Regions from separate parts of the Homo sapiens genome. Here all the other regions are linked to region 2. Evidence: promoter capture Hi-C in 16 types of primary human blood cells and fetal thymus (Javierre and others, 2016). All regions are on one chromosome and are shown on one strand. The core of a region is centred on a gene start or on the middle of the fragment in contact, and the rest is flanking DNA. Distances in the headings are between cores, read along the strand shown. Region 1 overlaps LOC101927413 (a long non-coding RNA gene). Region 2 holds the start of SYBU (syntabulin). Region 3 overlaps LOC101927413 (a long non-coding RNA gene). Region 4 overlaps LOC101927413 (a long non-coding RNA gene).

Region 1 (6,125 bases), core at 1,376-3,875, 720 kb after region 2:
GCTGCCCTTAACATTTTTTCCTTCATTTCAACTTTGGTGAATCTGACAATTATGTGTATTGCAGTTGCTCTTCTCGAGGAGTATCTTTGTGGCGTTCTCTGTATTTCCTGAATCTGAATGTTGGCCTGCCTTGCTAGATTGGGGAAGTTCTCCTGGATAGTATCCTGCAGAGTGTTTTCCAACTTGGTTCCATTCTCCCTGTCACTTTCAGGTACACCAATCAGACATAGATTTGGTCTTTTCACATAGTCCCATATTTCTTGGAGGCTTTGTTCGTTTCTTTTTATTCTTTTTTCTCTAAACTTCCCTTCTCGCTTCATTCATTTCATCTTCCATCACTGATACCCTTTCTTCCAGTTGATTCCATCGGCTCCTGAGGCTTCTGCATTCTTCATGTAGTTCTCAAGCCTTGGCTTTCAGCTCCATCAGCTCCTTTAAGCACTTCTCTGTATTGGTTATTCTAGTTATACATTCGTCTAAATTTTTTTCAAAGTTTTCAACTTCTTTGCCTTTGGTTTGAATGTCCTCCTGTAGCTTGGAGTAGTTTGATCATCTGAAGCCTTCTTCTCTCAGCTCGTCAAAGTCATTCTCTGTCCAGCTTTGTTCCATTGCTGGTGAGGAACTTCATTCCTTTGGAGGAGGAGAGGCACTCTGCTTTTTAGAGTTTCCAGTTTTTCTGCTCTGTTTTTTCCCCATCTTTGTGGTTTTATCTACTTTTGGTCTTTGATGATGGTGATGTACAGATGGGTTTTTGGTGTGGATGTCCTTTCTGTTTGTTAGTTTTCCTTCTAACAGACAGGACCCTCAGCTGCAGGTCTGTTGGAGTTTGCTAGAGGTCCACTCCAGACCATGTTTGCCTGGGTATCAGCAGCAGTGGCTGCAGAACCACGGATTTTCATGATCCGCGAATGCTGCTGTCTGATCGTTCCTCTGGAAGATTTGTCTCAGAGGAGTACCCGGCCGTGTGAGGTGTCAGTCTGCCCCTACTGGGGGGTGCCTCCCAGTTAGGCTGCTCGGGGGTCAGGGGTCAGGGACCCACTTGAGGAGGCAGTCTGCCCGTTCTGAGATCTCCAGCTGTGTGCTGGGAGAACCACTGCTCTCCTCAAAGCTGTTAGACAGAGACATTTAAGTCTGCAGAGGTTACTGCTCTCTTTTTGTTTGTCTGTGCCCTGCCCCCAGAAACTCCACGCAGTTCGAGCTTCCCAGCTCCTTTGTTTACCTAAGTGAGCCTGGGCAATGGCGGGCGCCCCTCCCCCAGCCTCGCTGCTGCCTTGCAGTTTGATCTGAGACTGCTGTGCTAGCAATCAGCGAGACTCCGTGGGTGTAGGACCCTCCAAACCATGTGCGGGATATAATCTCCTGGTGTGCTGTTTCCTAAGCCCGTTGGAAAAGCGCAGTATGCGGGTGGGAGTGGCCCGATTTTCCAGGTGCCGTCTGTCACCCCTTTCCTTGACCAGGAAAGGGAACTCCCTGACCCCTTGCACTTCCCAAGTGAGGCAATGCCTCACCCTGCTTCGGTTGGCCCACGGTGTGCTGCACCCACTGTTCTGCACCCACCGTCTGGCACTCCCTAGTGAGGTGAACCCGGTACCTCAGATGGAAATGCAGAAATCACCCATCTTCTGCATCGGTCACGCTGGGAGCTGTAGACCGGAGCTGTTCCTATTCGGCCATCTTGGCTCCTCCCCCAAACTTAGCATCTTAAGACAATGCCCTTTTATTATCTCACAGTCTTGGGAAGCAAAAAGTTTAGGAATATATTAGTTGAGTTTTCTGCACAGGGTTTCACCAGGCTGAAATTAAGGTATTAGCCGGGGCTATAATCTCATGTGGGGCTCAAGGACTAGTAGATCTAGTTGTTACATAAGCTGTACCTAGTATGGAATCTAACAAAATGAGACTATTATCTTTGGAAAGTGGGGGTTAACAATGGGGCTGGGAAAGAAGCTATGCCTTGGAGATCAACAGCTCTGGGTTTAAATTCTAACTGTGGTGTGTATGAGTTTTAATTTTATCACCTACATAAAAGAGAATATTTTACTTATTTTACAGGATTAAGAGATTAAATGAAATATCTGAAAGAGATTGACATCTAGCTATGTCTCCTAAGCATCTATATTTATTACTAAGCATGAAAACTCAAACATATTTCTGAGATGGGAATTATGAAAAAATATTCAAAGTTTTGAAAAGATGTTGAGGTGATAGGAAAACAAAGTCATGTCCAGCTTCACTTGATAATGAGGGTGCAGTAGTGTGGTTAATAAAATTGAAAAGATCAGGAAAAAGTCACAGAAACTGCTTTAGTTATTTCATTTATTTATTCATCCAATATTTGTATCTGTGTGAGAGCCTACTCTGAGATGGGCATCTTTCTAACTGTTGAGAATACAGTGGTGAACTAACCAGACAAGGACCTCACCCTTTGTATAGTACGGCATTTCCTAAAATGTATTGACTGAGATGTTATGATTCCTACAAATTAATAAATGAATAAAGGATTTCAAAGTCAAATAAATTATTGAAGCTTTATGTTATGTGAAGTTTTATGTTTGCTGTAGTAGTTCTCAGAGCCTTGAATATGCAAATGAAAATTGTGAATCTATAAGAATTAGATATAATATGTAGCATTTCCAAATTATTTTACTTTAGAGCTTCTATATAGAGGAACACATACTAATATCTTGCAGGAGACAGCTTGAGAAGTGCTCAATGAAGCTTTAAGTCAGATTGAATAAATGGATTTATAAAGCAATATTAAAGGCTTGTCAGTATTTGGATTTCATTCATTGGTAATGGATCCAATCATGAAAATTATATGATGTTATTTGGCACAATTCCACAGCTTAACAAAAGGCCTAGAGAAAATGGGCAGCTGATTTGTCTAGGTGTAGAAATTGACAAAGTGATTAAAATAAACTATGGAGGTGTAACAAAATCCTAGAGGCTTGTGAAATAAAGATAAATCAGTGAACCATGTATTCCAGCCTGGATAAGGAGGAAAGCAAAGCCTCAATAATTTGAGAGAATAATGAGATATGGAAATATTAGAAGTATAATGCTATTGCTTAGAAGTAAGAAAATGTGGAAGAAAATTATAGTCAGAGAGACACATTTCAAGTTTCAAGATATCAGATGTGAAAAATGGATGAAAAGTGATGACATTGTTTAGGACATAACTGTGGATTCATTGCTAAAGTGGAATGAAGAGAAGGTAAAAGCCTTATGAGTCCATAGTATACAAATGGTTGTCCATTTGAAGAATGAAGTTACTTAAGCATCTAGAAGATTATGAAGTAGAAAAGAGAACTGTGGTTCTGGCATAAATAATTTATGCATACTGGGTAGGCACCTGGAAATTGGTGGAATTATGACTTTTAAAAGTTAAGTCCGAGTATGGTGGCTCACACCTGTAATCCTAGCATTTTGGGACGCCGAGGTGGGCAGATCACTTGACGTCAGGAGTTCAAGACCAGCCTGGCTAACATGGTGAAACCCCATGTCTACTAAAAACACAAAAATTAGCGAGGTTTGGTAGTGGGTGCCTATAATCCCAGCTACTGGGGAGGCTGAGGAAGGAGAATCACTTGAACCCAGGATCTGAGCCGAGATATCACCACTGCACTTTAGCCTGGGCAAAAGAGCGAGACTCTGTCTGAAAAACAAACAAACAAACAAAGTTAATATGTGGTCTTCGAAGTAGGCATGGTGGAACCAATGTAAAAATCTAATGGCTTTGAATGAGACAGTAGGAAGCAAGGATATTGCCAACCTTTCCTTAAAGTCAACAGATTTAATGCAAGTAGGAGTGCCTTTACATGGAGGTTCCATGGGTAGTACAATATAAGGGAGAGTGGGTCTCGAGTTCAGACAAACACAGGTTAGATTCCTGACTCTGCTGCTTACTATGTTACAGCCTTATTTAAATATGTAATGTCTGTATGAATTCTACATTCTTTCATAGACACAATATTCCCATCTCATATCTTGAAGGCTCTTCTGAGGAATGACAAAATTGTGTAAATCTTAGCACAGTGTCTGTTTTTCACACAGGACTAGGCTTTTTACTGTGAAAATGAGAGCCATATTCTAGAAAAATATTTAAACTTGTGTGAAGGTTATGAGCCAATGATAATAGAGGCAAAATTCTGAGATATGGGTTTGATTGTCATGGAAAAGATGGGAAAAGACTCTGGATGGAGTTAATTCTTTTCAAATTTCTACTGAATATTTGTGGGAACTTTGGTCTAAAGTGTAATGATGCATTTTAAAAATACTTGACCAAGGTAGAGATTGCCAAACTTGATGATAATAATAAAAATGAACAAAATAATGGCTAATATATATTAAGATCCAGCTAACTCTATGAAATAGATTTTACCACCCTACTACACTATTTATGCATATGAGAAAAACAAGAAGTGAAATGACCTGCACAAAAGCATAGAATTTGTAAATTGCAAAGCCAGTATACCCTCTCATATCAGATAGACATGCAAACATGTATAGATTTACATAGATATACACATATTTACATGTGTTTAAATATGTATAATGTGTTTATGTATGTATATATGTGTATGTGTTTATGTGTGTATACACACACACACACACATATGTATACACAGAGAGAGAGAGAGAGAACATTAGAATAGACCCACCGAAAGAACTCTCTAAGTACTATTTAAAAATGTATGTACCAAACATAAAAACTTACTGCAATTGACATTTTGGCATACAGGATTAGGTAAACACAACAGCTCAAAAATATTCTATAAAGCCAGTTATTGTAATCAATAACACAAATGTTCAAAAACCAAAGATCTACAAATTTAAAATAAATATGTTAAACAATGTAATGTGAATCTGGATTCTGTAAGACACAGGAATCTGATTTTCAGGTTACAAAACCTTCCAGTATATAACCATAGGATTCAATGGTCAGGGCAAACACATCATGAGAAAGGATGGTTTTACTTTAGAAAAATAGAGTAAGGAATCAAACATGAAGCCTTGTCATGACTAAAACAAACCAAAGTGGACGTGGGGCAAACTAAACCTCTTTTGTTCAAAGCTGTATGTCCAGTGCCTAGTCAGTTCCTGGCACCTTGTAAGTTTGTTGAATGAAGTGAATGAATGCCTGAGAAGAAAGAGCAGCAGCACAAGAACTGGTTGCTGATGACAATAAGGAAAACATTACATAGAACTTGGGTGCTGAGGCACTTGTATCTACTTTAGACTGTCTATGCTTCATTTCTTTATTTGTTGAGGAAATCGATCCAGAAGAGCTTGACCATAAATCAACAGCACTATTCTCTCTTTATTGACAGATATTCACCAAGTGAAGGGGAAAAATAACTTTAGTTTAGAGCTGGAAAGTCAACTGCTACCTAAAATCCATTTTGAGGGAAGGGACATTACTCTTAAGTCTTGGTGTAACAAAGAATAAATGTAGCATAAAGCTACTCCTTGACTCACCAAAATCTGAGATATATCAATCAGTGACTTGTCTAGAAATTTTGAACTGACAAGACCACTGAATTATTATTATGGGTTTCTGAAATTCCAACAAACTTAGGTCATGACCTTAAACACTCTGGAAGGAAGCATCTTTCAAGACTGAATGGCTCACAAATCTCAGACTGTCTGCTTTTCCCCAATTCCATCACATTAACTAAATAGCCAAATGCTTATGGTATTTACAGATTTTTATTCATTTTGACACAACTAAAATGTCTCCATAGATATCTCCATAGTGTAGACCAAAAACCCCACAATCATCTCTCAGTAACAGCAACATGGGTAAACAGACTAGAAGGCTGGTTTTTGATCAAGCACGCTGTTATTAAATGGTGGGTCATGGGGCGTAAAATGTGTAATCACACCAGAATAAATCTTAAATTTTACAGCCTCACTGAAATTACTTCCTACCAGACCAATGGTCAGGACTAAATGTGTTTGTCACACAAGGATGAAGGGCAAAATTGAACTATATTTCTGAATCATCAGTCCTAAAGGCTGTTAAACTAAGTCTTACCTTATATGACCTAGAAATGCAATCTGATTCAGCAACATTTACTAAGTACCTAGTATGAGTCCTCAACACAAGCCAAACTAATTATAAT
Region 2 (5,933 bases), core at 2,924-5,423:
AAGGAGGAGGGTTGATCAATCACACATGCTCTTATGGGAAAACAGGCAGCTCTCTCCCTGGTAAGAAAAATATGGGTCTCCACCCCACCCCACCACACACACAAAAAAATCTCACGATGCCCCAGAATGCAGTTTCTTTCCTTCGTGACGTGTTGTGAAGCACGTCAGCTGCTCCTTGTTGCTGTGCAGATCACCCAACATTAGGTCACCGAGAGAGACAGCAGCTCTTGCTCACACAGCTGATAGGATTAGGAGATGGTGCTTTGTCAGCCCTGATTGAGCCCAAGAAAACCCCCTGCATACACAGGTGAGATGTGAGGAAGAGTGAATGTGAGGGACCGTGATGTGTCTGGGTTGTTTGGTGCAGGCGTTTTCTTTTCAGCAGTGCATTTGTATTGTCTTCTCTGTGAAGTTTGCAGTCTAGGGGATTCCTATTAATAAAAATCTATGCTTTTTCAGTTATCTGGTCTCAGAGATTGGCCACATGTACCTCACGGGATTTTTGTGAGGCTCAAATAAAATTATATATGTGAAAGAGTTCTGAAAATATAAAGTTTTGTGCATACGAAAGGTAGGAATCATTTAATTACAAATTTCACATAAACAATCAAGTAACTTATCCCAGATTTGAGGGAATAATTATATAAAGACATTACCTTCCTTCCCAGTCTACAATACCCTATCTCTCCTGTGCTTTGCCAGGAGATATATATATATATTATATATATATATTATTGTATATATATATTATTATATATTATTTATAATATTTCAAGGTTAAATCCTAAAGCAATTGATATTTTCTAAAAGCCAGAAATACATTAATTTTTAAAGAAGCCAAAAGGTGATAAAACAAGACCATAAAGTAAGTCTTTAAGTAAAAAATGAAAATGATGCATAAGACTATTTTAAAGCAGGGGAAAGAAGACCATATTATGCTGTATTAGATTATATCTCTTTGATGGTATAATCCAAATGTTACAAGACATTTCTTCTAATGACATGAGAAACACTTGAATGAAATTAAGGCGGCATAGATATTATCATCGGTAAAACTTGCCTTTTAGAACAGTGGAAAAACAGGCTTGGGTTCCAAAAGTACAGAGCTAAGAGGCATCTGAACACTAAATCATCAGCCTTTCCCTCTGCTAGGTTGCTATGGCGACAGCAAGGCTACTGCACAGCCTCTCAGTGCCTGCACTTCTGCAGTAAAAGCTGTCACTGAACACATGTTGGATTTTTTAGGCACACACCCAATCATCAGATACAAATACATTGTGGAGGCAGCTTTATCTGAATCATTTTCAAAACAAGTTGTATCTATGTTCTTTATCTTGCACTGATGGGCCCCTTATGGGGTTATAGAATTCACTCATTCAGGCATTAATTCATTTGACAGTTATGTATTGAGTGTCAACTGTATAACAGGAATTGTACTAGGCACTGCCTACAAGCTTTGGTGAAAACAAACAAGTAAATGGGGAATTCTGAGGAGATCATAACAGCTCTCTTGGGGGTAAAAATAAGTGTCCTGGAATCATCAGGGGAGGTTTCCTGGAAGAAGCTGTCTAAAATGAAACAATGTATCTTTAAGAGTTGAGGAGGATAGGTGGATGTAGTGCAAGAAATGTTCTAAACAGAGGCAGGTGCAGCAGTCTCGACGAAAAAGAGAATACAAAACCTCCACCTCCGAGAACTGAAAGTGCTACAGTTTGAGCAGTATCCATTTGTATGTAAGGGAAGAGTGGCAGGGACCAAAGGGACAGGTTAGGGAGGGGAGGGAGTATCTACAAAAGAGAGGAGTGGCAAGAAATGAGATCGGAGAGGTAAACAAGGCGGCCAGATCAGGAAAGCCTTGTGTGCCACATTAAGGAGTTTCAGTATTACCTGGAGGACAATCAGGAAATCATTAATGAGTTTTCACGGAGAAGCATGACTTGATTTAGCTTTTCATAAAGGCTTGTGGAAAAATGGAGACACTGATCGGAGAGAAAGGAATAAGAGGCAAGGCTGAAAGCAAGAGACCTTGAGTTAGACCACTATTGCAATAATCTAGGGTGACTGTGGTTTACACTCTACACGAAGATAATGGAGACAAATAGTGGACAGAAGTAATCAGATTCAAGACCGTTATTACTTGGGTGGCATAGAGATCACTTGGTGGTTTATGCTATGTGTGGGTCAGGTGAATGAGAGAAAAAAGTCCACGATGACACTGAGGTTCTGACTTGGCTAACTCAGTGGAGGGTGTTTCTGCTATTAGGTCCCCAGTGTCAATTCTCAATTCTAAGTAGGGAACTCAGAAGCATCCATTAACTTTAAAAGTTTGTTCTTATCTCACAGTATATGATCCCAGGCTCATAATTTTAGGAATAATAAGTTGTATGAATCATCCTGGACCATCACTTTCCTGAGGTCCATATTTGAAACAGCTGTGGGTGTAGAAAGTATGAATTAATCACCTCTTCTTCCCAAATAAAGAATCTTAAAATTACCAACCTCACTGCTTGAGAGAGCTAAGTAGATTGAAAAGGCATGAAGATTTATGGAGGAAGCTCTCTTTTGGAGTTATAGGAAGAAGGGAAATTGATTCCACTAATCCTCTGGCTTCAGGCTCTCTCTAGACTCACAACATATATTCTTAGGCTTGAGAGTTGAGGACTCAGAAATGCTGTTTGGAGGATGGATGAAAGGGGACAATGACCCTCAGTTTTCGAGGAGCACAGTCCTCCTATGTAGGACACTGGTGCATAAGGATCAGAGTGTCGCACTGCTTGGAATATTCTCCAATTCTGAATAAAGGGTATATAAGTCATTATACATGGTGAATTCCACCACCAGATAAGATTTAAGGGTAGCAATTGTAATAAATCAAGGCCCTTGGCCCAGCTGATGTACCCTATTCTAAGTCCCCAGTTGGACAGATTTTCGAGCTTTCTTAAACAAATTTGTGTGCATCACAAATGCTTTTTCTGCCTGTCATGTAAAAGGCATCAACAAATATTGACTGGATCATCTGGACCTGACTTAGCTGCCCTTTGGAAAGTTCTGTTCAATCAGCTGGATAGAGCTGTTTGTTTTCCTCACCTAACCCTCACAGCTATCCTAGAGGTAGGTATCACTATTATTATCCCTCAATTTAACAAGGGTAAATTTGAAGTTCAGAAGGGTCAAGAACCGTAGGCGTAGGCCACGCATGCAATGGCATCCGCATGTAATTCGAGCACTTTGAGAGGCCTGGACGGGATGATCCCTTGATCCCAGGAGTTAGAGGTTGCAGTGAGCCCTGATCGCGCCACTGTACTACAGCCTGGGCCACAGAACGAGATGCCGTTTCAACAGCAACGGAAAAAAAAAAAAACAAAAAACGAAACAACAACAAAAACTTTAGGCATAAAGGCACTCAGGCTGAAGGGACCGATTGGAGTGCTGGCTTGAACTCGTTTTTCTGAGTTCAATTCCAGTGCTCTTCCCTTAGCAGTGTGCTGGAGCTACTTCCTGGAGCCGGGCAGCTGCAGGGCAGCGCTGGGGAAAAGACTGTTCTCTGGCTACATAGCAGCCTGGCTTCTCCAAGCCGGAGGGAGCTGCGCTGACCACTGAAGGCCTTTCTGATGCAACCCCTTCCAAGTAGAATCCATCGCAGCCTTTCAGATCCCGGAACCCAGAGGCTGTGTCGGTCCTGACGCACTGGCTTGGCTGGGCTCCGGTACGAGAGGGATCTCTGCAGCTCTCGGGCGAGGCAGTTGTGGGGAGCTGTAGGCTGACTTAAGACCTGGAGGCCAAGGAGGGGTGGCCAGGGGAAAACTTTCTCTATTTTGTCTCTCTGTGATGTCGCAGCTTTTCTCAGTCACTCCATCCAACGCCACCCACTTCAAACCTGAGATCAAGTGCAAAAAAAAAAGAGGGTGGGGTCACCCCTGGGCTGGAGATGCCGCTAGCCGCAGCCTGCCTACACCGGGCCGAGCTCCTTGGAGAGGGAGGGACACCGGCTCTGGCTGGGGGGGCGCGGAGTGCCGTGGGGAAATCGGGCGGGTGGGGCGCGCCCAGGCGCGGTCGAGTTGCCCCGAAGGCCGCAGGTGAGGGAGGGCGTGGGAGGCGCCCCAGGAGCTGCCTCTAGCGAGTGCGGCACCACGTGTCCGGCCGGGGCGGGGTCGGGCGTGCCCTCGGAGCCCAGAGCAATCGGCGGCAGTGGCGGCGGCGGCGCGTTGGAGCCTCACCAAGAGCCGCCGCCCGCAGCCCGCGCCGGCTCAGCGCAGTCTCCTCGCTCCGTGCTCGCAGGTGCCTCCTCCTGGACGGCGGCAGCGGCGGCGCGAGGAGCCGGCGGGCAGCGGCGCGATGGGGCCCCTCCGCGAGAGCAAGGTAAGGAGCGCGGGGCAGTGCGGGCACTGGAGGGCGGGGAAGGCGGGCACTGCGGGGCGAGAAGCGGCGGGATGAGAGCTGGAGGGGTGACATTTAGAGTCTGGGGAAAGGTGGAAGGAGGTGGTGGTGGGGTCTGGAGAAGGCAGGAGGCATTGCTTAGGAGTTGAGATCCAGGAGATGGGGAGGTGGTACTGGAGGAATAGATTTTGGAGAATGACATGATTGGAGGGTTAATCCCACCTCCTGAAACTGGGACTGTGGGGTGTAGCTTTCAGTTGATATCCTGTGTGTGTGATGTGAATGAAAGGAATTTGATGCATCCGCGACTGGGAAAAGAGGACTCCCGCGTGTCAGTGACCCTGCCTTAGCTCAGGGTCTGCGGTGTGCCCGGCGGAGTGGCTGGCGCATGGTACCTGCTGGGCGGCAGATGTGCAGGGCGAATCCGAGGCTGCGTGCGGCTGGCGGCCCCCGGGTAGAGTGGATGCCTGAGGGCCCTCCGAAGTTCCCCATTGCTGAGGTTTACCCTTCAATTTATGCCATGTGCCGGCCTCCCAGAGGTGTTTATTTTGGCCGTGACCCTTCCTGGTAAGCCGGTGGAAGGAACAGTAGGTCATGTTTCGAAAGGGTGTTTGTTACCTAAGCCAAAGAGTCCCTTTCAGTGGCAGAGGTTGGAGGAAGCAGTGGAATTTTTGCAAAACGCTCCTCCTAGGAATCCATTTTCATAAGGCAGGGTGGTGGTGACCCTGCAAAGCACTGGATTTGAATTTCGTTCTACTTCTGGCATGGTGTGCAGAATTGCCTAAGCATCTCTACCCCATTTAGCCTGTTTCCTCATCTGAAAATAGGGACATTCATTGGTGTGCTCTCTATGTACAGTCTGGTGTGTAAAGATCAAATGAGAAAATGGTTGGAAAAGCACTTTATAAGTTGGAAAACATTGTGAAAATATTACTGTTACGCATTTTTAAAACCACGAAATGGCAGGGTACTTCATGCTGCGTTTTTAAGGAGAAAGAAAAATCTCTTCTTATGGATGTCCTGTAAGGAAAACAAAAATTAAAGATGATGTAAAAGGTGGAGCCATCTTCCCGAGTATCGGATTTGTGTTTGCTTTTCTGTTGGCAACAAGCCTTGTGTACCAGGATATTAACGAATAATTAAGATCCTGTCCAGAAGAGGAGGGATTTTAAAGATAATTGTGTGTGAGCTATCAGGAAATAACTGTTCCAGGTATAGGGTTCAACTTTGTGAGGAGACAAGAAAACAAGTCAGACTGTCACAGCTAATTTAGGGAAAGCAAAATGGAAGTCTGAAGGCTATCAAGTAAGCCAGAGTGTGGTGTTAATAAAGAGCCTTTGGGAGGCAGAAGCTTGAATGTGATAGAAGTCAGGGTGGGAAGGTGAGTCAGGACCAGCATAGGGAAGTAGGATGGCCTTCCAGCTAGTGAGTGGAGGTGTGTATATGTGTGTGTGTGTGTGTGTGTGTGTGCCACACAGACATGTGCTATTCAGTAGATTAGAAAGGTTAACTCATTGGAAGAGTTTTGAAGCTCATTTCAGCAACTGAGATAAGAA
Region 3 (6,185 bases), core at 3,053-5,552, 770 kb after region 2:
TGATGGATTTCCTTGTGAATAAAAGAAAATTGGCCAGGCGCGGTGGCTCACACCTGTAATCCCGGCACTTTGGGAGGCTGAGGCGGGTGGATCGCCTGAAGTCAGGAGTTCGAGACCAGCCTGGCCAACATAGTGAAACCCCATCTCTACTAAAAATATAAAAAATTAACTAGGCATGGTGGCAGGTGCCTGTAATCCCAGCTACTAGGGAGTCTGAGGCAGGAGAATTGCTTGAACCCAGGAGGCGGAGGCTGCAGTGAGCCGAGATCATGCCATTGCACTTCAGCCTCGGCAACAAGAGTGAAACTCTGCCTCAAAAAAAAAAGGAAAAGAAAATTAATCCCAAACATTATATTTTATTCAGACACTCCTCCTGTCTCCCTAGGTATAGAAATAAAGCTTCATATAGTGTACACAAAAACAGTATAATCAAAGGAACTAGAGGAAAACAGTCTTTAAAGAATGATAATAAGACCTCACAACAGACTTCTTGTCAGCAAAGTAGATGTGTGAAGAAAATAGAATATTTTTAAACTACTGAATCAAAATACTGATCAATGTTGAATTCTATGGGAACTATGATTCAAAAGTGAATGTAAACTAAAGGTCATTTCTAACATACTATGAGAGTTTTTATACTTGCATATACTTACTGAAAGAACTAAAGAATGTATATTTCAGCAAGAAGGAATTAAGCTAGAAGAAAGGGGCTGAATGTAAGAAGCAATGATAAGTAAAGAAACTGAGAAAGATATTAACAGATCTGAACAATGTAAACATAGTATTATGGATGATAAAAGAAAAACTTCAGCTGAATTAAATTTAAAGGAGTTTACTTGAGCAATGAACAGGCAGCCACCAGAATCACAGCAGATTCACAGAGACCCCAACGGTGCCTCACGGTCAGAACAAATTTATAGACAAAAAAGGTAAAGTGACATACAGGAATTGGAAGTGAGGTACAGAAACAGTGAGATTGGTTACAGCTCGGTATTTGCCTTATTTGAACGCAGTTTGAACATTCAGCAGTCTATAAGTGGTTGAAGTATAGCCGCTGAGACTGGCCAACACTCAGCTATTGTTACAGGTGCTACTTACTACAAAGTTAGGTTTTCGGTTTTGTTTGACTATTAAGCTAGGTTACAGTTCATCCACAAGGACTCAAATATAGAAGTACAGAGTCCTTCTCTGGCCATGTTTAGTTTGCTTTAACAGGGATTTAAAAACAAAGTAAAGTACAACTAAAGACAATAGTAATATTTTTAAGACAGAGAAGGGTGGTCATATTTGTGGAATTTAAGATCCTTTTTTATAAAGGATGAATGCAGAACTATAGACAAAATTAAGATATATTGACAGTGGTTATGATTTGAATTACTCCCCTTCAAAATTCAGGTGTTGTCAATGTGATAGTATTAAGAGGTGAGGCCTTTAAGAGGTGATTAGGCCATGAGAGCTCCTCCTCCATTAATGGGATTAAGGCCATTTTAAAAGAGGCTTTAGGCAGCAGTCTTTGGCTAGCTTGTCCTTCTTCCTTCTGCCATATTGAGAAAACTGTAGCAAAAGGCCCTTACCAGACAAAACCTGCTGGCACCTTAATCTCGGACTTCCCAGCCTCCAGAACTGTGAGAAATAAATTTCTGTTCTTTATAAATTACTCATTCTCAGAAATTTTATTATAGCAACACAAAATGGACTAAGACAATATTTAAGTGAAGTCTGTATGTTAGAAATGTAAGGATTATCACAAAATAGTAGAAATAACATGGATAATATCCCAAATGAATTTAAGGCAAAGAGAAGAAAAAATCAAAACTTGGCAAATCCAAAAGAAAGTAGAAAATAAGACCAAAAAAAAGCAAAAAAAAAAGTGTAAATAGGAAACTTAATACGAGACCAAAAAGTAATCAAGAATCACAAAGAATATAAATAGAAGATTATATACAGATTACTTAAAAAGCTCTCACGATTTCTCCAACACTTCAACCTCAACCCACATAATGGATTTATCATTGTAATGGCTGGTTTGAGCAGGAGGCCTGGCTCAACTTTGTGGAGCTGGTATTTCATTTTTCAGAGAGTGAATTTAGAAAGCCTTGGATATGCTTCTGGTTAAAAGGCTTCCATACTTCAGTGGCAAAAAGTGAAATGTATATTTTTTGCTTATAGTTTAGATTTTAATGGGATTATGTCAATTTTTTATAATTTTCTGTAGACTAAATCACACCCTAAAACATATGGGCATAATTTCACAATTTCTTCTCCTTAGTGAAATCTCTTTGCAGAACAGATATAATTGACCTAATATTTCAGAGAGTCTCTAAATATATAAGAATGGAGTCAGCATACAAGATTTTCAAATCCCCTGAGGAGGGGAGAAGTGGCTCTTATATCAGGTGGATGGACATGCAGAGATCATTAGTGGTTTCATGGTACCTTTTTGTTTAGTAACTGTACTTCCTATTTATCTGCAATCTTATCACTGAGAAAGTTTATAAAGCTTCAAAGTACCTGCTCATTTATATTGCCCTATTCTCTATAAGAGGTCCTAAATTCTCTTCTGATTCACATGATATGATAGTGTCTTCTGGGTCAGATGAAATCAATCTTGCTACTCGGTCCCTAGCTATTTTCACCAGGTTTTGGTACATGATCTGAAAGAATGTTTATAATGTCTGAAGGTAAGATAGGTCAGGTGTCCCTGAGACTCCAGTTAAATGGTAACAACTTGGCCAATCACATTGTTTCTTCTCATTAGGGTAAAGTTAATAGATAAAGTAGGATGAGGAGAAGAAAGAGCAGTTGTCTTTCCAAACAATGCTTAGCCATTGTTCTGGTACTCATTATGGCTGTTGTACATCTCAGTCTTGCATGGTCTGAGTGCAATGTAACATTCCTGTACATGCTACCCTATGGGGAGAATTCCTAACATAAACCTACTAAAGGTAATTTGTGTGTAATTTTTCCTTGCGACCCTAAGGATCCTGAAAATTCCAATCAGGAAAACATATCTAGGGAAGGGATATGAGTCAGGGAAATTCCAGCCTTGAATATTGTAAACCAAGACTGGAGCATATTTTAGAATGCCAGATTGATATGGTTTGGCTCTGTGTTCCCACCCAAATCTCACCTTGAATTGCAATACTCCCCACCTGTCAAGGGCAGACCCAGATGGAGATAATTGAATCATGGGGGCAGTTTCCCCCATGTTGTTCTCATGATAGTGAGTTCTCATGAGATCTAATGGTTTTATAAGGTGCTTTCCCCTTCACTCGGCTCTCATTCTCTCTTCAGCTGCCCTGTGAACAGGTGCCTTCTGCCATGATCATAAGTTTCCAAGTCCTCTCCAGCCACGTGAAACTGTGAGTCAATTAAACCTCTTTTCTTTTACCCAGTCTTGGGGAGTTCTTTAAAGCAATGTGAGAACAGACTACTACACAGGTGTTGGAGCAGGTGTCTCTAGGTCTCTAAGATCAGAACAAGGCTTGCAGCAAGATGGTCTTAACTTGGAACAAAAAACCTAATTTCTTTCCTCTGCCTGCAACCAGAGGGAGATACCTCATAATGGGATTGTTTCAGGGACAAGTAGCCTTTGGGAGTAAAGAGCCAGTGCAGAATATGCCCAAAATATTCCTTTAGAGGTGGCTTTCTCTAAGTTTTAGAGAAGCATTATTTTGCCTCTTTTCATAGCACTGACGCAGAGTTACTAAATGTATTTTTTCTCAAGTTGTTAGAAATGAGTCATAAAATAAATGACTTGTGTTTGACTTTCAAGTGTTTCTAGCACCAAGCATTAGCAGTAAATGAAATCCTTCTAATATTTTCTATGGGTGGAAATGTGTCAGATTCCCATGGCTTTTAGGTTAAACTAGAGTCAATTTAAATTTAGTATGTTTCATCACATATAAAGCAAGTTTACTCAGCAACTATCAAGCATGTGTCAAGGTGTTATCTGAAAGTCAGAAAATTCACTTTGTGCTTCATAAATAAGTACAGGTGAATTACTTCCCTCCTCTATCTCTTTAAAACAAATGTATTTTGTTGAATGCCTTGGGCATTCAGCCCAGAATGACAGAACACAGAATGTTTTAATTGAAAAAAAAAAAAAAAACCTAAGAGATCAGCTAGTGTAATCCATTAATTTTACAAAGGAGGAAAGCAAGGCACAGAGGTAGGTTTCTCTCTTGGGGATCACACAAAAAGCTAGTAGCCTAAATACTGGTCTCATGACACCCATTCCCATGGTCTTTGAACCATAAAATTATTCTGCTGTCAGTAGCATTAAATGTTTCCTCTCCACCGATGCTGAGGATGTAAATTCCCCACAAAAACGGAATTGATGTGATCTTTTTCCTGCTTCAGGAATGTTTTCCAGGTTTGTTCTCCCACTTACCCCTTCATGTCTCATTCCTTTCTATGGATATCTGAAAATTTGTCCAGTTGCCTGGCTATAGGGTACAGTCTATTTCCCAGTCCCTGCGGAAGGAGGACCTATTGGATGGGCTGCCCTGGCTTTGCATTAGGTCTCTCCCTACAGGCTTCTTCTCCCTTGGGCTCTCCCATTTCAGCCTTATTTATTTCAGCTCTGAAACAGGTGATGTTGCACCACTGTACCAGATCCTGCTCACTCTCAGGACCTTGAATTTTGAGACTGTTCCTAGATTCAGCTCAGCCTAATATCCTGGGATAATCAGGGAAGTCTTACTTATGTCCATATCAGTACTTGATGAGCCATCTGAAGCCTGTGTTCTTTCTTCAGTAGAATAGTACTACTTAAATAATCTTTAAAATATTTAGAATACGAAGAATTTTGAAAAGAAACAAAGCCATCCATACTCTTCTATTTTGAGACAGAGTGTTGGTCACCCAGGCTGGACTGCAGTGGTGTAATCACGGCTCACTGCAGCCTCAACCTCCGGGGCACAAGTGATTCTCCCATCATGGCCTCCAGAGTAGTTAGAACTATAGGTGCATGCCACCACACCCAAATGATTTTTTTGTATTGTTTTAGAGACAGGGTCTTGCCATTTTGCCCAGGCTGGTCTTGAAATCCAGGACTTAAGCGATCGACCCACCTTTGCCAGAGTGCAAAGGTAATCCCTTTGCACTTACTGTATTTCAAGACCTTGGCTAGGTTTGCAAGATAAAGCAGGAAAAAGTAAAGAAAAGGCCCTAAATTGTGAAATTTACAGTCTGAAGAACCAGACTGTAAATGGGCGATTATAATACAGGATAATGGAAGAGAAGGGAAGAGAGTGTGCTGTAAAACCAGGGCATCAAACTTGGGTACTCAAGGAAGCCTATCTCAATGAAATAATATCTTAGCTGAGGCCTGAAGGACGTAAAAGATTTAATCAGATAAAACAGTGAAGTGGGGAAGTGCTTCAGGTAGAGGGTACAGCTTTGGCAAGGCTCTAAGGTGTAAGAGAATAGTCTGTGTGAAGAAATAAAAGAAGTTCAGTATGTCTGAAGTATAGAATGGAGGGCAGTTAATGGAAACAGTTTGAGTGAGTATTCTGGTGTGAGATCTTGCAGAGCCTTATAAACCACAGAGGAGAGTTGGGGCTTAGTTCCAGGAGTGATGGTGTGCTTTTATAGGGTGTTAAGCACTGGGGTGACATGATCCAATTTGCCTCAAAAGAATCAGTTTGGCTACAATGTGATGGGTGGATGGGATGGAGACAAATCCAGAAGCAGAAATGCCATTTTATGGATGTTTGAATAATTGAGGCAAGAGATAATTTTGATCTAGAAAAGAGTCAAGCCTGCAATGATAGAGAGAAAAAGACATATTCAATAAATTTTTAGAAGGTAAAATAAATTTAATTCTACAATTCCTTCTGGAGGCTTCTTGTTTCTCTTTCTTTTATCAATAATTCTCTCCTCCATGCCACGCTGCCTTTCACATGGCTGGAAACTTCAGCTCTCAGCTTCATGTCATCTTCTCAGAGAGGACTTTCCTGACCACCCTATTTAAAATGTCTCCGTCCTCACTCTCTCAGAGTACTGATTTTATTCCTTCATAAAAGAATCAAAACGTGACTATTTTATTTATTTGCAATGATATAATTAGTGTCTGCTTTCCTTGCTAGACAATAAGCTTCATGAATTCAGGTACCATGTTTATTTTTTTCCATATGGAATACCCAGGGTCTGACTAGTTTCTGGCATACAGCAGGTGCTGA
Region 4 (6,203 bases), core at 1,871-4,370, 730 kb after region 2:
ATATATTATATAATAGACACATATTATGTATATATTATATAAGAGACATATAATATACATATATGTATATTTACCATTTGAAAGATGATAACAAGATAGCAAGCATACCTTAGAAGAAAAAAAAATCTCTAGATAGATTTGAAAATAAATAAATAAATAAATAATAAATAAATAAATAAATGGTCTAGGAATTTGTGCTGGGTTCGGCCTGAAATGATTGTATCATTGAGGCTCCCTGGCCATTTGGTTTCATGTTGGTTTTGGCCAGAGAGAGGCACTGGTAGATCAATAGGCTTGGAAGAGAGAGCGATCAGGGTAATTATTCCACGAGCTTTCCTCCTTGGAGTCATCTTGGCTATATCCCTCCACCTTAGGTCACAGCTCCCATCAGGGAATCCACTACAAAGTTCTAAATTTCAGTAACTGCTTCTTGCTTCTTCAGCCTGGGGGTGGCAATAGCTCCTTAATGTTGCCATTAGTTGTTGTTGTTGTTGTTGTTGTTTTTAATGTTTTAACTCTGCTCACATCTTTAGAGGTAGTTCTTTTATCAAACTTTCTTTCAATTTTTTATATGAGTGTGGCATCTATTTTATGCTGGAAATATGAATTATTCAGTAGATGTTTATTTATCTACTTAAATATTGATCAAACCCCAATTATATGTGCATTGTATGTGTTTGTATGGGAGAATGGCTCTCAGAACAATACAAATGTTGAAAACTGATATATCTTTTCTATTTAGATAAAATTGTTTCCTCTTCTCCAACATTTCACCATCCAAGTGAACTAATATTGGTAGTTTTAAATTTTGTTCTCTCTCTCCCTCTTTATTTCTTTCTTTCTCCTTCTTTCCTTCCTTTTTCCTTTCTTTCCTTTCTTTTCCTTTCTGTCTTTTTTTCTTCCTTTTGCATTCTGCCCAGCTATGGATAGTTATCCTACATGCTATGTAATGCTGGAGGGAAGACAAGTCCCATCTCTGGCAGCCAGATGTGGAGGTTACCAATGAGGAGCCTGGCAAGGAGGTTTCACCATAAGAAAAGGGCCTGCATGGCCGACTTTGTGGGTTGCTGGAGATGGTAGACTCAAGGAGGTCTCTTCAAGGTAAACATTGATTGCTACTGCCAGGCTGACTACATACTGCAGCTTCCCTCAGGTGGGCATCAGCTTTAGGTTTTCACTAACAGGCTGAGTGAGGGTTCTCAGAGGTCCTGTGCCTGGGAGGACGCCTGATAGAATCTTGCACTGGCTCTTATTGTTGGCTTTCATTGTCATTGTGATGAGCCCTGCTGAACAGGGATGTTCAGTGCCCAAGGGACGCTTACCTGCAATCACTCATTCCCTGCCTGCACACCCACATGCAACCTCAGAAACCCACAGTGACTTATACACAAAAGGATTAAAGGCAGGACCCAGGAGGTGGGGTGACCAGGAGTGCAGGGAGTTCCAGCCCACCTGCAAGAGAGGAAGCATCTCTATGCAAGCTTCCGTTTAGAAGCCTAAGTAGCTGCTCCTTACTCAGTCCTCTATATTAGAGTCCTTTTATGTCAAAATTTCTGGTTTGCCTGTCTTAAAGTTTCAGGTTTTTGTGTTCTATTTTCTAGTGCAACTTGTGTAAGAATGTCATCTTCTGTAATGCAAGCCTCCTTGTATTCATATTTCACATTCCTTGAGGACATGGCCATATATTTTTTTCTAAAGTATGGTCTGGTCTTGTTACACAGTCCTCAGAAATATTCTAATATTTTTTAACAAATGCAACCAGAGTCTTTTTAGTTTGGCATTCAAGGTGCTTTATAATATTTTTCCTATATCTCTGTTTTTAGTAGTTTCTTCTCTGTAACCTGTGTTTCAGGGAAAGAAAAAAAATCCTGAACATTTCTTGAAATTTTTCCTCCTTTATTATTTCTCCTGTTCAATTCTCCACCTCAGTAGCAAAGGTACTTCTGCATCAACCATCCCTACACTTTTTCTCTATTCACCAATAAAAATACCGAATGCGTTCTCTCCCTCCTTTGAACATGCAATTAACTTTGTTGTATCCCTCTCATAGTACTAGCCGACTTTTGTCTTGTAGTATGTTTATTGTAAATTTTTAAATTCCCATCCACTAGTTTGTAAGTTTCCTTGAAAGTTATTTTACACAAGAGAAGCCATGGAGATAAAGTCACTAGTATGTGGGTTTGGGAGGGCAAAGTGATCCAAGTTAGCACCTTGAGTTACAATATTTGAGAATTTTGTGAGGAGTAGGAGTCCAGGATTATTAGGCATCAAATAAATGTCTTCCTCTTCCTTCTGCTGGCTTCTCCAGCTCTAGGCAAACTTGGAATTCTCCTAGTGTACCCATTAGTTTCATTAAATCAATCTTTTGGTTTTTGTCTAAATATTTCTTTCTAGGAAAAGAATTTCTAATGCAGCCTTAACTTGCCAAGGCAGATACATACCACTAGCCAACATACTTTATGACTTTTACCATTTATGTTCATTTTTTTCCCTTTTTCACTGAAATATGTAGCAGGCTGAAAGGATATTAAGTTTTGAAGTAGTTTGCCTCAATAATATGACATAAGGGCATTTTTTCTCTATATGCTTATGTATTTTCAGCTTCTTTTTTATTTACTTTTACAATAAGCCTTTATATATGTCTAACCATAAATAGGAAGTTAAAAAAATATCCTGAGACATTTTGGCTGAGCTGCCTTTTATTTTCCTTTCTACAACTTTGCTTGCATGCCAAGTGCATACCTCTTAAGATCAAGGTAGCAAATAAAAAGAAAAAGTGGACTTCAGCCAAAGCACTTAGCAGGCTGTCAGAAAGCACTATAGGTAGTTGCTTCTGATTAAAATCAAACCAAACTTCCTTGAAAACTAAGGTTTCCAAAGTCACTCAAAAGTTATAGCAAAACAATTCATATTGACAGCAGTTGCTAGGGACCTGGAGAAATCTACTCATATAGTAAAGATAACTGGAAGTTTTGGGAGTGAGTTTGTAAATTCTGGGTTTCTGTTGGGATGTTAGATGTGGGGGGTGGGGGGGTTCATAAAGAAGCTCTAGATTTCTACTCACAACTCTTAGTAAGCACAAGAAAAAAACTAGGCTTAATGACAACAAAGAATGCCACTTCCTTAATAAATCTCTGGAGACCAAACTTGTATAGTAACATTTTTGTCCTGGTTATACAACAAAATTTTGAGACTCTAAAATCAACAGTTGAGATTGCAGCACATATATAATGAATTACTGTTGAACTTTCCTCACCTTGTGCAAAGTGCATGAAGAACACTTCATACACACATAATTGTGTGTGGCAGGTGGGGTGGGAGGGGATTACAGAAAATCAAATGGGTAAAACTCATTCAGGAGGAGGGAGCAGAAAGTATGGGAGAAGAGGTGTAGCTAGATTTGGTCATGGAGGAAATTATTGCTCCATTCTATGTCTGGTGGAAGCAAGACCTTCAATAACCCCCACAGCCTAGGGATAAAGTGGGGGTGTACTAGGGCACAGATCTAATGACCGGTCATACAAGCAGATACAACGGTGCTGTCAGGGCTCAGTGGGATAGGTCAGATGGTCAGGGAAATCAGCAGTGAGAAGAAAGACTGTAGGCTTTGGGGTCAGAAACGTGAGTTATGAATTCAGCTCTTCTGCTTACTAGCTGTGTGCCCTTGGGGAAATTGTTGAACTTCCATGAAATGGTTTTCTTCCCTCTGAAATGGAGAAAATAATATCTTTGTTTTTGTGCGAAGTAAATGGGACAGGGCATATATATAACATGACAGATGAAGACACATAATTAGTTTGACTACAGCCAGATGAAGCTCATCTAAGTTTGTTCATCTTTGCTTCTCCAGTATCTGCCATTTAGAATGTGCCCACAACTGCCAAATCAATAATAGAATAAAGCAAGGGGAATCCCTGAGTCTTCATGGAGTAAGAGCCACACCTTCTTAAGGGGATCAAGGGGCAAAGTGACTTGAAGACAATATTATCATGATAAATAAGGAAATAAGGGAAAGTGTGGAAGGTTTTCATCTCAATGGACATGAAAAAGGTCAGAAAGGGGAAGAATGGCACACTCAATTTTTCTAAGCTGGGAAAGGAAATGGTTGGAGTGCTGAACGTATGTGTGTGTGCGTGTGTGCTCATGCACAGTGCATCTTGGCTAATGAAATGTACACAAGAGAAGTGTCAACATATTGAAATGTACTCTTCCTTTTGTTTTACATCTATCCCCGAAGTGTGCATTATTAGAGTTGAGTGCATTTAATAAGCCAGGATTATCTCCTAGAGTTGCAGAGCAAGACAAAGCAAGTAGAGTCGGTATCTGGAGACCTTTTTGCAAAGAAGGTAGGTTTTGGTGTGATTTTTAAACTCTTGGTATTAACTATTTTTTTATTCTTTTGTATTATGATGTTTTAAAATCAACTTTTGAAGGGTTTTTTGCTTGCTATATGAAATATATTATTAAACTGATTTAGTTGTCCTATATTCTTGGAAAGTATTTCTGGTTGCAAAAGGGTGGCATTTTTGTAGGAGCAGATATTGAAACTGCTAATAAATTAGAATCAAATAATAAGGGAGAATTCAATTCATTTTGGAACCAAAAAGGGAATGAAACACTTTTGCAAATTGATTTGTATTAACTAAATGCTCCCTTTAAAAAATAAAATTCTGGAACGATGACATTTGCTCTGCGTACAACGTGTGTGATCTTTTTAAGATATCAGGTTATCTTTGTGAGATTTAATTTGTAAGCTTTCTTAGAAGGAAAAACATTTTAAGTAAAAAAGAAGTATTTTTTAAGCTATTATGCTTAGTGTATAATTTAACTTAAATGGAAAATGCATAAATGCACTTGATATCTTTTAACAATTGTGCAATTACAATATAATTATTCTTCCTATGCGCAAAGATTAAATAAACTGCATTTCAACGTTAAATACCTTAAGAAGTATGACTGTAGTGGGAGGTCATTAGGTTAAATTCTAATAATAAGCAAATCATAAAATTCTGTTCATCAACCAAGTACAGAATTCAAGTAAATACACATCTATATGTATAGTTAATGGAAATTTATTTTTAGCTTGAGAAATGAAATAGGCATAGTACAGCCCCTGAATTCCTACTTTGCTTGAATAAATCCTCAGCTGAAAAATATTATCCAAGTTGAAGAAAAATGTCAGAAACAAAAAGAAACCCAAAAAGAGGCAAATCCTAAGAACTTTAATCAATAGGAATGGGTACCTAGGGAAAAAAACAAAAACGAAAACAAAAATTACCTAACATTCATTGAATACCAGACCTGAGCTAACACTGCGCTGGGTGTTTTGTATATGTTGTGACATTTAATCATCACAATAATCCATTGATGTAAGTATTGTCATATTTATTTACAGACCAGGCCAGACAGCTGGCATACAATGCTGCTGGAATTCAAACTTTGAAATGTCCCACTCTGAAGCTCATATTAGAACTATCAGATGAAGAAATGCATGAGATGACTAAAATTATGTAATGAACATCTTGAGGAGGTCAAAATTTTTTCAAGTCACTACAGCAAAAGATGTTTTCTGCCATTAAATAATGTCTTATATATTCCTATAACTATTCTAGTTAAATGTATAATTGTGTTCGTATGTGTTAATTAGCATTTATGATCCATGTTTACAGAGTGCACGCACTGTGTTAGACACTGTATTAGAAGTAAAAGATATTGCAATGAATGCTCAGGGAAACTAAGTTCTAACAGGGGAAATAAACAACACAATAGCAGCTTTTGATAAATATTAGGTGGAACAATATGAAACTGCCATGTTGGTTCAATATCAAAATTTCATCTGATTTGACCTAACTATCTAAATATTAAAGTATTTTTTCAAGTGTCCCTACAGAAACTCATGACATACATTTCTGTTATTTGAATATTCTTATACATTGTTTTTTATGGGATTCGATATGCACTGAGTCTCTGCAGAGAGTAGGCAGTTTATGGAAGAATATACAGTAAATCTGATCAACTTCTTAAGAATTACTTAACCTTTACTTTAGCTTTCTGATAAACTCTCAGAAGACATCTGGCAATATCTGAAGACAGTTTTGGTTGTCATACTGGTACCTGTTGAGTAGAGATCAGGTATGCTGCTAAAATCCTAAAATACACAGGACATTCCCCCAATAGGAAAGAGTTATCCAGCTCAAAAGGTT

Evidence for each region. The method cuts DNA at HindIII sites, captures the fragments that hold promoters and counts their contacts. A CHiCAGO score of 5 or more calls a contact.
Region 1: a fragment that was not itself captured here is called in contact with the fragment with the promoter of SYBU in region 2 in 2 of 17 cell types (total B cells and naive B cells); the score reaches 11.0 in total B cells.
Region 3: a contact is called between a fragment that was not itself captured here and the fragment with the promoter of SYBU in region 2, in 1 of 17 cell types (endothelial precursors). The highest score is 5.3, in endothelial precursors.
Region 4: a fragment that was not itself captured here is called in contact with the fragment with the promoter of SYBU in region 2 in 2 of 17 cell types (total B cells and endothelial precursors); the score reaches 5.6 in total B cells.

What each region holds. Positions count from the first base shown.
Region 1 is chr8:108,926,043-108,932,167 of GRCh38, reverse strand. All of the region lies in intron 1 of LOC101927413 (a long non-coding RNA gene), which reads left to right. Among named protein-coding and RNA genes, the nearest start is that of TMEM74, 140 kb to the right of the region's middle. The HindIII fragment of the contact is 191 bases long and covers 2,530-2,720 here.
Region 2 is chr8:109,643,062-109,648,994 of GRCh38, reverse strand. It overlaps SYBU (syntabulin), which reads left to right and starts at 4,173. Exons shown (of 7, transcript NM_001099754.2): 1 at 4,173-4,359. The coding sequence starts at 4,336. SYBU-AS1 (SYBU antisense RNA 1) reads right to left here and starts at 4,866. Exons shown (of 2, transcript NR_161375.1): 1 at 4,773-4,866; 2 at 1-3,877. RefSeq lists enhancers at 3,489-3,808, 3,470-4,406 and a silencer at 3,919-4,408. The HindIII fragment of the contact is 4,274 bases long and covers 1,457-5,730 here.
Region 3 is chr8:108,871,721-108,877,905 of GRCh38, reverse strand. LOC101927413 (a long non-coding RNA gene) reads left to right here. Exons shown (of 6, transcript NR_188035.1): 5 at 3,295-3,362; 6 at 6,176-6,185. Among named protein-coding and RNA genes, the nearest start is that of TMEM74, 87 kb to the right of the region's middle. The HindIII fragment of the contact is 3,600 bases long and covers 2,503-6,102 here.
Region 4 is chr8:108,908,769-108,914,971 of GRCh38, reverse strand. The region is part of intron 3 of LOC101927413 (a long non-coding RNA gene); the gene reads left to right. Among named protein-coding and RNA genes, the nearest start is that of TMEM74, 120 kb to the right of the region's middle. The HindIII fragment of the contact is 3,273 bases long and covers 1,484-4,756 here.